2 separate regions of the Homo sapiens genome follow, and region 2 is linked to region 1. Evidence: promoter capture Hi-C in human tissues and cell types (Jung and others, 2019). All regions are on one chromosome and are shown on one strand. The core of a region is centred on a gene start or on the middle of the fragment in contact, and the rest is flanking DNA. Distances in the headings are between cores, read along the strand shown. Region 1 holds the start of SYN3 (synapsin III). Region 2 overlaps SYN3 (synapsin III).

Region 1 (6,730 bases), core at 920-3,419:
AGATCACGAGGTTAGAAGTTCGAGACCAGTCTGGCCAACATGGTGAAACCCTGTCTCTACTAAAAATACACAAATTAGCCAGACGTGGTGGTGGGCGCCTGTAATTCCAGCTGCTTGGGAGGCAGGAGAATTGCTTGAACCAGGGAGGCGGAGGTTGCGGTGAGCTGAGATCGCACCACTGCACTCTAGCCTGGGTGACAGAGCAGGACTCAGTCTCGATAAAAAACAAACAAACAAAAAACAGAACATCTGGCAACTCTGGGTGGGTCTCCATTCACATATGGCAAAAATCAGTTGGAGCTGAGCAGTGACTGTCACCTTAGGCAGGTGTGCATACCTCAGTCTGTCACAAGCCCCATCCCTCCTTTCTATTATACCCTGCCAACCTCACTTAGTACATGACTACCCGGCCACGTCGGTATTAAAGTTTGTGATCCTTCAGCTAGTCTTATGCCCTCTTAGTTACTGAGGTTAGAGTCACTCCCTCTTAGTTACTGAGATCATGTACTAACGCTCATGCAGTAAGTGGAAGATGCTGGGTAAGAACCTTCCCGATCTTGGAAATAGTACCATTACTCCACAGTGGCTCAAGCTAAACACCTAGGAGATTTTCTTCTTTCATCCCTTTACGTCAACCCCTGTCATAGTCTATTTTGTGCCAATATAACAGAATATCACAGACTGGGTAATTTATAAGGAACAACAATTTATTTAGCTCATGGCTCTGGAGGCTGGGAAGTCCAAGATTGAGGGGCTGCATCTGGTAAGGGCCTTCATGCTGAGTCACCCCATGGCACAAGGCAGAACAAGAGAGCAGCAGAGGGGTGGGGAGAGGGCCACTCCTGGCATTAATGGAATCACCTCTTAAAGGTCCCACCTCTCAACACTGTTGCATTGGGGATTAAGTTTCCAAGATATGAACTTTGGGGAACATATTTAAACCATAGCATCCCCTAAATCCAGCCTAATCCATCATCAAGCCTTCCTGTGCTACTTTTGACACACATTGCAGGAGGTCCACCTTTTCCGTATCTTGCTGTCACCACCCTGGTCTTCATCACCATAATCTCTTGCCTGAATTGTTCCCTCCAGATTGATATGACAAAGCCCTGACCCTCACGGTGGCCTACAAGGTTCTGGGTGATGGTGATTCCACACTAGTCTACCTCTCTGGCTGTAACCCACTCTCCCCTTGCTCACCTCACTCAGCCACCCTGGGGGCCAGTTCCAGCTTCAGAACCATGCATCGGCCGACCCCTCTGTCAGCAATGCTCTTGCTTCAGCCCTGGAATCGTTTTTGTCCTCCAAGTATCCAATATCACAAGCGGCCCGGAGACCACCCTAGGTATAGCAGTCCTAGACCCCTTTCTTTTTCTTTTCTTTTTTTTGGAGACGGCATCTAGCTCTGTTGCCCAGGCTGGAGTGCAGTGGCTCTAACTCGGCTTACTGTAACTTCCACCTCCCGGGTCCAAGCAATTCTGCCTCAGCCTCCCGAGTAGCTAGGACTACAGGTGAGGGCCACCATGCCCAGCTAATTTTTGTATTTTTAGTAGAGACGGGGTTTTATCATCTTGGCCAGGCTGGTCTTGAACTCCCGACCTCGTGATTCACCTGCCTCGGCCTCCCAAAGTGCTGGGATTACAGGCGTGAGCCACAGGCACCCAGCCGACATTCTCTTGTTTTTTTCGTTTGTTGTATATAACCTACCCCCACCTCCACCCCATGCAAAGTCCACGAGGACGATAGACTTTGTCTTGTTCCCTGTTGCATCCTGGCCCTAGGGCCTAGCCCACAACCTGGGACATTTCCTGACAAGGGGCCCTGGTTTCTCTGAGGTGCCACCTGAGGTCCGGGAGGTCAGCTGACTTTCCCAAAGGTGGATTCCAAGGACACTGCATTCTTCGCACTCCCCGAGGGGCGTCTAGACACTCCTGGGACCCAGAATTATTAGCTAACTGGGCTCCTGAGTCCGGTGAGAGCTCAGAGTCTAGAAGCAACTTTCCCTGCCTGGAGAGGTGAACCCAGCAAGGCGTTGGGGAGAGGCGTGGGCGAGGGAGTGGGCGCGGGTGGGCGGGGCCGTCCGGGGGCCTCGTTGCCCGAGCCAATGGGGCGCCGCGGCGCGGGGAGGCCGGGCCGCCGGGCGGGGGCGCTCGCGCGCGTTGAGGGGCAGAGGCTGAGCTCCCGGGACCCGGAGCGGATCGACTGGCGGGCGCCGCGCCGAGGCACCACCGGGCGCCGAGTTCCTGGCGGCTCGCACGGTAAGCGGCGCGGCGCCGCAAAGTAGACTTTGTGGGGTTTCTGACAGCCGGGAGACCCCACCTCGAGCGGGGGCTGCTGGTGCGTTCTCGCGTCGGGCTGCGTCCCCTGGAGCTCCGGCTCTGTGTCCGCGGGATGCGGGCGCACGGAGGGGCAGGGAGGGAGGCAAGGAGCCGCGCACCACGGTGTCTCCCCAGGCTGCCGCTGCCGGGGCCCTGGGCCGGTCCCTGGGACAGACAGATCGGCGTGCGGGGGCCGTCTGCCGGGCCCGGGAGCCGGGGGCGCGCAAGACTGTGGATCCTAAGACTGCCTCCACCCAGCGCCCGGCCCGGGGAAGAGCTTGCGGGAAACCAGGAACCGCAGCGGCCGGACCTCTGCTCTGCGCCGGCTCCTAGGACCTGCCTTAGGTCCCCAGACCCCTCATGACCTGTTGCCTTGGGTTTGGGAGGTCAGGTTTGTCATGCCATTTCCGATTTCCAGTCATCCTGGGGGCAGGATGAAATTTCAGAGTGGTTTCCTGGCCAAGCTAGAAGCAGAGAATAGCTATGGATACAGCACCTCGTGTATCTATCCAGCACTTACTTGGCTTTTTCTGAGTGCCAGGAACTGTGCCAAGCCCTAGCAGCATGAAGAATGGCCTTTGGGGAGCTTCTGGGGCTAAGAGGGACAGTAGGAGGAGCAATTGCAGTGCAGGGTAGTGCGGAAGACTCGAGATGGAGAAGAGGACGGTGAGGAAGCCAGGAAGGTTTCAGAGAGGAGGTGAGCATTGACTGGAAGTCGGAGGTTTTGCCAGGCTGAAAAGTGTGTTGGGACTGTGAGTTGATAGGGAGCAGGAATTCCAGGTGGGTTTTCTTGTGTAAAGGTAAAGAAACTGAAAAGGTCCGGTGTCCTGACCTAGCACATCAGATAATTCTACAGCAGATAATGGAGTAGGACCGGGTCTTGCTGTAGGTAGGAAATGAGCTCTCGACATGGCAGGAAGCTAAAACCTGCACAGACCTTAAAGTGCAGCCTTAGAATATTTAGAATTTTATCCTGGAATGAAGGAGGGCCGTGGAAGAATTCTGATCAGTGATCAGGTCCCTCTGGCAGCTCTGGGGACAATGGATGGAGGCCGGAGCATCAGAAAGCTGGTAAGTTGTAGTTGTTTTCTGGTCCTTGGCTGCAAATACTCTTCCCTGCTTAAGGGAGCCCCCTCTGCCCGGGAGCCCTGCTCCCTGGCTTCTGGACATGGATTCAGGCAAAGAGATGCTGCCCGTGTAATGCTTGCTTCTGCAGCCTGCACATCATTTTGATATTGTTTCTGGAGCCTGTGACCTCAGTCTTGTCATCAGGCCTCTGAAGGGTGCCTCTGCTCTTCTTTTCTCATCTTCAAGCCCTCTGTGTGCCCTTCCCCTCTGCCTGGGCTCCCCTTTCTGTTTCACAGAGATCCAGTCTCAGCCATTGGAGGCAAGGCTGTGTGTAGATTGGTGTAGTAGAAAGAACAAGGGCTCGCTGGGAAATCAGACCAGAAAGTCACTTTAGCCATAGGCTTTGGGGACATTAGCAACCTTCATGAACCTTCTTTTTCTGATTTAAAAGGAAATCATTGTACTCACCTGTCATGGTTTGGGTTCCCTGGAAAAAGACTTGGCGCTTCTGAGATTTTTGTGCAGATAAGGGAAGCAGAACTGGGCAGAGGGAGATGTTGATCTATGGTGCAGTGCAAGAGAGGTCTCAATCCCTCCCATGAGACAAAGAGACGAGGCCTTTGAAGCTTAATGTTGATCAGCCAGTGGGTGCAGGCTGGTCCTAGGGAGGGAGCTAGGATGTCCCTTCAGCAGGACAGTTCCTGACTAGGGACTCACCTGGGAGCTGGGGTAACCAACACTCTGGCAGCTGGACATGGGGAAGTCATGAGTGTCTTGGTCTTGGAGGGGGAGTTGAGCATTTCCCCACGGTATCCACTACACTACCTCACAAATGAAGTAGTGCTTTGTACTGTGCCTGGTGCATAGTAGATATCTTAAAAGTATTCATTTCTCTCACCTTTAAGTTTCATGACTGCACCTGAAAATGAGTTTTGGAATTCGAGTTGAGTCAGCTTTTGTGAGGAGCTTTTAATAATAATAGCCACGAAGACTACTGCTTCCCTTTTTTGAGTGTCTATTATGTATATACATTCTCTTCTAGTTGTCCAATAATACTCCAACTTAGGTACTTTTATTCTCATTTTATAGTAAACCCAGTCTCTTCCAAAACCCAACCAAGTTGATGTTCTTTTGCCACAAAATAATAATTATAATAATAACAATCACTCACAACTCTATGATTTGTTACACTTTCCAAAGTGCTTTCATTGGTGGATTGATTGATTAATCATTCATTCATCCACTAATTAATCAATCAATGTGTATTGAGTGTCTCTTAAGGAGTAGGCGCTATCCTAGGTGATGGGGAGAAAGCTCAGTCTATTAGAGGAGATAGACATTAAATGCTTGGATTCATCAAAAGCAAGTGTTGAGGGGTGGAACATTGCATTGCATAGCCAGTATGTGATAGAGAATAACAGGCTCTTTGTCCAATTGACTCCTTGCCTTCAGTTTCAATATAACCTTCTTGGAAAGGCCTTCTGTACTCCCTCCCTTTTATTCTCCCTTCGTAACAGTCATTTATCTATTTTATTTACTTTCCTATTGTTGGTCCTCCCCTTTAGACTGCAGACTCCAGGGGATCATACATTGCTTCATCCCAAGAGCCTACCACAGGGTTTAGCACATATTTCTTAAATGAGTGAAATGAATGAAGGGTGGATGTGCTTAACAGTGTAGTCAGGGAAGGTCTCCCAAAGTAGTGATATTTACACTGAGATCTGGGGAATGAGAAAGATCCGGCAACGCCAAGATCAAGAGGCAGAGAGAACAGCTTATTCAAAGACCGCGAGGTGGAGGAATGGAGGCTATTGTGGTTGGAGCGCATAGTGGGCAAATTGTGTGGAGTGGCCCGAGATGAGTTTGAAGGCAGTGGAGTCTTGGAGGCCATGCTGAGCTTACATTTTTATCTAAAGTGCAACAAACGAATCATTGAAGGATTTTAAGCCTGATGTGATAGTGTATATTTGTGTGTTGTCTGTTATGCCTCTGGGAGGAGAACTCCTTGAAGAAAGGTGCTTAGTAAATAGTGCTTAAATGAATGGATGATCTGGTTTATGTTTTAAAAGGAGTCAATCTCAGCTTCCAGGTGAGAAGTGGAATAGAGAGAAGAAAGATCTTGTCACAGTTGGAAGCTCAGTGAGATATATATTGGTGTCTGGGCTAGAGGACAGCAATAGTGTTGGAGAAAAGTAAAAGGGTTTGAGCTCTATTTAGGAAGCAAAATGGACAGGACTTGCTGATACTTTAAATGCAGGGAATATGGGAAAAGGGTGGGGATGAAGGATGGTGGCCAGCCTTATGGTTTCAGATTGGTTGGCTACTGAAAGTCTGGCAGCTCCATCAGTAAGTGACTGAATAAACAAAATGTAGTATAACATACAATAGAATGTTACTCAGCCATAACAAGGAGTGAAGTACTAATACATGCTGCAATGTGGATGAACCTTAAAAATGCTATGTGAAAACGTGGTTTAAAAGCCAGACACAAAAGGTTACATAGTGTATGATTCCCTTTATGTGAAGCATCCAGAATAGGTCAATCCATAGAGACAGAAAACAGATTGGTGTTTGTGCTGATCTGAGGGGGAAGTGGGACTGGGGCTTGACTGCTTAATGGCTAAGTGGTTTCCTTTTGAGGTGATGAAAATGTTTTGGAACTAGATAGAGGCGACAGTTTGTACATCATCATGAGGATAGTAAATGCCACGCATTGTTAGTTTAAAATGGCTAGCTTTTAGTTATGTAAATTTCACCTAATTAAAAAAACAAACAAACAAAAGTTGGGTGGATGGGAGCACTATTCACATAACAGAGACTAGGCGAGGAGCAGGTTGTGCTTAGAGGATACAATTCAAATACCCTCTTGGAGATGCCCGTAAAACATCCACATAGAGACAGGAATTGGCTGTGAGTCTGGAGTCGAGGAGGGGAGTCTGGGCTGGAGATATAAATATGGCAGTTGTCAGCACTTAGATGTCAGCCAATAAAATGGATGAGTTCGAGTGTGAGAGAGAGAGGAGGAGAAAATCAGAGCTTTGGATCATTCTTTAATTTGATCTTTATAACTATTCATAGGAGATGCGATTGTCCTCATTTTTAGATAAGGACACCAACCCCCTCTCCCGTGTCCAAACGAACTTGCCCAAAATCAGTTCGTTCCTGTGAGTCTCCAGACTTCCAATCCTTTGTCTTTCCCATCTCAGTGTGATGCCATTTAGAACTTCGGCAAACACTTTCTCTCCCAAATCTTTTGGTCATGATTGAGTATTCACACGTGGCAGGCACTGTCCAGGTTTATGTTAGTGGAGAAAGTAGACATGGCTCTAATCTCATGGAGTTTA
Region 2 (5,912 bases), core at 2,874-5,373, 430 kb after region 1:
CAAGACCCCATCTCTAAAAATACATACATACGGCCGGGTGTGGTGGCTTAGGCCTGTAATCCCAGCACTCTGGGAGGCCGAGGGGGGCAGATCATGAGGTCAAGAGATGGAGATCATCTTGGCCAACATGGTGAAACCCCGTCTCTACTAAAAATACAAAAATTAGCTGGGCATGGTGGTGGGCGCCGGTAGTCCCAGCTACTTGGGAGGCTGAGGCAGGAGAATTGCTTGAACCCAGGAGGCCGAGGTTGCAGTGAGCCGAGATCGCGCCACCGTACTCTAGCCTGGCAACAGAGCGAGACTCCGTCTCAAAAAAAAAAAAAAATACATACCTATATAAAATAACATTAAAATATTTATTTTGATTTATGAGTTTGCAGGCACCTTCTCAGATTTTTATTTAATTTTCATCTCATTTCATTTTCATTTTTATTTAATTTTCAGGTCTCACCCTCCTTACCCTAGTCCTGGCCCTGATCATCCAGCTCTGTTCCCCTCCAGGGTACATGCTCTTAACCACCCCACTATGTGGCCTCTCCCAGTCAAGGGCACCATCAGGATTCAAAGAGCTTTGAAGGAGGTGACTTATACTGGGAGCTGGACGAGAAGGAAGATTGCAAAGAGGCTCCCAGGGGATGGCTCTGGCAAAATACAAAGAAAAAAGTTTATAAAGCGTTTAAATAAACCTGTGAAAGACAAGAAAGATAGTAAGAGAAAAAGGAGGTGTTTGGACCCAGGAAGCCAATCCCTGCCCACCAACCTCTCGTCCACACCGTGCCGCCTGCCTGAGAAAGCCTGGGCTGGCTGTCCCAGGGCTGACCCGGCCAGCCTGCTCTTGCAAGCCTCTTTCATCATTAGGTTCAACTGCTCAATGCAAACATTTTGATGAAGATTTTTGTATATAACAAGGATAGCAAATGATTCTTTGCATTACGTAGTGGTTAAAGTTTGCAAACACTTTCCCATATGTTACCCAGATGGCATCTGGGCCTCTCTCCTTGCCTCACAGATCTAGATGTGATTTTCTTGGACTTTCATTCATTTCACAATCTCCTAGTATATTTATGCAAATTCCTAGAGGATGGGGAAGCCTCTGTTCCTACCTCGAGGGCTGCTCTGTTGCTATCACTGACCCAGATCCCACGCTCAAATCCAAAGCGATTTCTGAGTGGGATGGATTTCACCAAATATTTGGGGAGCACACACGACAGGGTCAGAGCAGAAGGGGAGGAGCTTCACCTTTCACCTCTCAGGCTCCGAGCTCATAAACCTGCCCAGCTTGCCTGGAGAGCTCCAGGTTCTCTTTCTATCAGGCGGAGCAATTCTACCTGCCCAGGTCTAGGAGCCCTCCTGGGTCTAAGTCCCTCCCTAAAGAGCCCAACAGGGCACCTGGGAGACCACAGCCTCTTCCTTCAGAGAAAAGGCCCCCACTTTTCAGTTACAACGAGGGAAATTGAAAGCACACCACAGGAAGCATGACCAGCGGCCAGCACAGCTTACAGGGGGAACAGCCCGGCATCTTCCAGCTTGTAACTAAAGATTTGAGTGAGGTTTTTTTTTTTTTTAGACGAAGTCTCGCTCTTGTGCCCCAGGCTGGAGTGCGATGGCATGATCTCAGCTCACTGCAACCTCTGCCTCCTAGGTTCAAGCAGTTCTCCTGCCTCAGCCTCCGGAGTAGCTGGGATTATAGGCATGAGCCACCACGCCCGGCCAAATTTAAATGACTTTTAACCTCTCTGTCTCATTTTATTGTCAGAGGAATTGTGGGAGTCCCCTGAGAGCTCTTCTTCCAATCTCTCTGGCCCAGCCTCTTTGGGGCTGCACTTTGTCAGCACCAGCTTGGGAATGTAGAGAAATCCCCAGGCAGGAGCAGGTAATCCAGCTGCTGTTCCCACCAGTCCCAGATGTCCTTCCAGGGCCTCTTCCTCCTCATCTCCCCTCACTTCCAGTAATGGTCTTCAATATACCTTGTGAAAGAAGAATTCAAACTTGTAAATTAAATGAGGGCACTACATGGAAGCTTCTAGAAACACTAACATCAAGAGCAAGGGGAAAAGCAAAAGGACTCATTGGCCCCTCTCTGTGGAGCCTTTTGGAACTGTATCTTGCCTGCCCACACTCTTCTGGTAGCCGAGAGCAGGGCTGAGGGTGTGCAGGCTCCCTGGACCCCTGGTAAAAACATTCCTCTGGCCGGGTGCGGTGGCTCACACCTGTAATCCCCACACTTTGGGATTTGGCGGGCGGATCACGAGGTCAGGAGATCGAGACCATCCTAGCTAACACGGTGAAACCCCGTCTCTACTAAAAATACAAAAAATTAGCTGGGCGTGGTGGCATGTGCCTGTAGTCCCAGCTACTCGGGAGGCTGAGGCCGGAGAATCACTTGAACCCGGGAGGCGGAGCTTGCAGTGAGCCGAGATGGTGCCACTGCACTCCAGCCTGGGCGACAGAGTGAGACTCTGTCTCAAAACAAAAACAAAAACAAAAACAAACAAAAAAAATGCTCCTCTGTGTTTGTACAGGTGGAGCTTCTTCAAGGAGGGATGGGTGTGTACACAAGCCTGCATATGTGTGTGTGTGTGTTCAGTCTGGATCTTTCTATAAGTATGGGGGTCTTGGAGTTTCCGAGCATGTCTCTGTGTGTGTCTGGGTGTCTGGATGTCTATGCATGAAAGCTTCATACTCCTACATGTGTGTATGATTGCACTTGCCCATCCATGTGTGTGGATGTCCCTCTGTGGTTAGGTTTGGGAGGTGTCTCTGTGTATCAAAGTCTCAGCTTCTGGGTGTGTCCCTGCCCAGGTAGATGTGTGTCTGCATCCCTGGGTGCCAGAGAAAGATGGAAGTACAGATGTGTGGTGTGACCTGCCGTGAGTGTGCGTCAGGGTGTGTAGGTGTGCATAAGTGTAGAGGGACAGCAGAGCATTAGGGCTCACAGAAGCTGCAGCATACGTACACACTATCTTTGCAAAGCAAGTCATCTGTTTTCCTGGTTTTGTTTCTTTCCTCCCCATGGACTCTGGCCCCTCCTTGAAAACAAAGGGAGCTTAAAAAACGCAGCCCTTCCTGTGTTCCCAAATGTTCAGAATGCTGTGGTGCACTTGAACCGTGCCAGCTCGGATGCCCAGCCCTGCCGCTGTTGCAGGAAGTTACCCGCCCGCCGCACTGCCACCCCCCACTTACACAACGACCCCGGGAGGGTGGGTGGGAGGGAAGGAGGAACCGCACAGCTCGCTACCCCTCGACGCCCCAGCCAGTGGCAGGCCCTCCATGGGAACTGAGACTCTGTGTGGGGGCATAAGAGCATCATCTGGGGGCTTCCTCCAAAGCTGGGGGTGCAGGGAGACAACACCTTTACATGGAAATTATTGCCAACCAACCAGGTGTCCAGGGACCTCATTTTCCATTTTACGAGGTCAGTTCTAGGTAGAAGTCAACATTTTCATCGTTTCAACACACATTCACCAAATACCTACTACATGATAGACGCTGTGGAAGATAAAACGACAGCTTTGTCACCCTAGGATTGGTGCCCGCACCTCCACACTCGGGGCACCCAGTGTCCTCCATAACATAAGGGGGTTAAACTGGGTAGCACCAAAGCCTCTTCCACATCAGAAATTCTGTGATTCTTTTGTGGCAAGTTCATGAGTCTGTGCTCCCACACTTCTCCCTGCTCCACCATTCCCCGGTTGGGGCAGGTCAACAGAGTCCCCATCTTTCTCAGCTCTGCCCAAGTGCTCATTCCTTTCCCGCCTTCCTTCCTCCCCTCTGAAAAACCTACTCTCGGTCCTTGTTTACTCAAAGCTGTAAATTCCTAATGAACTCTTCTCTCTTTGTCTACACTTGAACAGGTTCCCTGCCTTACTCTAACCCCACTTTCTACCAGGACGATCAGAGCCCTCCCAGAAATGACCGCAGCCCATCTTTGCCACCTTAGGTCCCACATCATCCCTAACATCTCAGCACACATTGTTGTCAGGTTTGGGAGGTGTACAGAAGTCTCAGCTTCTGAGTGTGCCCCTGCCCAGAGAGATGCGTGTGTGTCCCTGGGTGCAGAGGAGGGTGGCAGGAAAGATGTGTGGTGTGTCCTGCCTGTGAGTGCTGGCCAAGCTGTGTTGCACAAGAGGCACCCTCAGCACAGTCTCCTCCCAAGCCCAGCCTCTTCTCAAGCCATTCCCTCTGCCTACTGGGAACACCCTTTCCTCCCTCTACCCCCAACCATTTCCTTTCACGGTCATTTCAAGGTCCATCTCAAACACCTCCTCCTTCCTTAAGCTTTTCCTGATTCCTCCTTCCTTAAGCCTTTCCTGATTCCTCCTTCCCCACCCAGTAGACGTGAGCTCTGTCTGATTTGAAACCTTTCCTGTGATGCAGAATATTTGGCCTTGACTTACGGTTATCGATATCTTTATCTGTTGTGCACAAGAAGACTTAGATCCTTAAGACTAAGCATCCAAAAATGTGTCTTGCTCTTGCTTGAATCCTCACATGGCGTCAACATTGCAGGTGCTCAGTAAGCATCTGCACAACTCAGTCCAAAGCTCAGCCATGGAATGTCAGGAGTTGGGTAGCCTGGTTGGAGATCATGGCACTGTCAGGGGAAGAGGTGGGAAGAGCAGAAGGAAGGAGTCTTGGAAGTCACAGCCAGGTGGTCAACCAATGACTGTCCCTGTGATAAGCCTGAGACCCCAAACATCTCCCTTATCCAAAATGGCCTGAATGTGTGAAGAAAGAAGAAGGATGCTAAAGTGGTCTATTTATTCCGTCTGGACCACAACTTTTCCAAGAAACAAAAAGCAAGGCCGTGTCATGTACTGAGATAACTCTGGGCTGGGGATGGCAAACTTGGGTGCCTTCAGGCCAGCAAAGGACCAAAGCCAGCTGGGAGAAAGGGGTGGTTGGTGACAAACTAGAGCATCTGTCCCATTTATAGGGAGCTGGTCTTGCCTGCAGAAACGTGGCACATGGATGGCTGGATCTAACCATTGTTCCAAAAAGCCCCATATCCACAGTTTTGTATGAAATCCCTCACTTTCTAAGTGTGGGCAATCTATTCCATTAGAAAGAAAAATCAACAACACTGGGTGGTCCCAGTGAAATCCGTCCACATTCAGCCTGTGGGCTGCCAGACTGAGGTTCCTACCTAGGTGCATGCCAGGTTATGGAGTGACATGACTGTGACGGGCTCCCTGCTGAAGCTAATTCTAAAATCCACCCAACTAGAGAAAGTGCTGGGTATGCCAATAAACCAACCCTGGGCATAGAAAGGCAGCGGGCAAGTGATAGGAGAAGGTTTAGAATGTCTTCATGGTCTCTGAAGCCAGGATCTTTGTGTGCCTTGAGAATCATGACCTAGAGGGTAGGCAGAAGGCTTAGGTCAGTCACCAGCTTATTTGACTTGAGCAAGTGACATCCTCTTTCTGAGCTGCAGAGTCTCCTTGTACAATTAGCGGGCAGGACTAGAATACCCCTGAGATGCCTTTCAGCCTCTGGCAAGGAAATGCTAACCGGTGACTGTGCAAGGAATGGGTCCCACCGTGGCAGGAGAGAATTCCTGTTGGCAGGGCCCAGACCTGGGAACTTTAGATGTGGACCTTGCCTCTTTCCACATGGCAGTGCCTTCCAGCAGGTGCCCAGCGACCAAAGGCCCAGCCCAAGTTCTCACAGCTCCACTCCGATCCTGGAGTCATCGCCGAAATCTTTATCCATGGGTGTGGTGCAGGGCACCAACAATCAGAGTACTGTTGGACAGGTCCCTACAGGTGTTAGATGGTAGGAGTTATGGAGAGGTGGCCCAGGGGAGAAGCCAGTACAGCTAAGGTGGCAGGAAGTCTTCCCGGTAAATGACTACCAATGAGATGAAAGTATTTCAATAGCCTGACAATGGGTATGACCGGGCAGGTGTGTAT

Evidence for each region. The method cuts DNA at HindIII sites, captures the fragments that hold promoters and counts their contacts. A contact is called where the count stands out against the background at its distance.
Region 2: a contact is called between a fragment that was not itself captured here and the fragment with the promoter of SYN3 in region 1, in 2 of the 25 tissues and cell types used here (H1 embryonic stem cells and small bowel).

The regions. Positions count from the first base shown.
Region 1 is chr22:33,053,820-33,060,549 of GRCh38, reverse strand. It overlaps SYN3 (synapsin III), which reads left to right and starts at 2,169. Exons shown (of 14, transcript NM_003490.4): 1 at 2,169-2,258. RefSeq lists an enhancer at 5,731-6,423. The HindIII fragment of the contact is 13,516 bases long and covers 1-6,730 here.
Region 2 is chr22:32,624,401-32,630,312 of GRCh38, reverse strand. All of the region lies in intron 6 of SYN3 (synapsin III), which reads left to right. LOC107985545 (a long non-coding RNA gene) reads right to left here. Exons shown (of 3, transcript XR_001755504.2): 2 at 4,398-5,912; 3 at 394-1,967. Among named protein-coding and RNA genes, the nearest start is that of SYN3-AS1, 52 kb to the right of the region's middle. The HindIII fragment of the contact is 3,550 bases long and covers 2,349-5,898 here.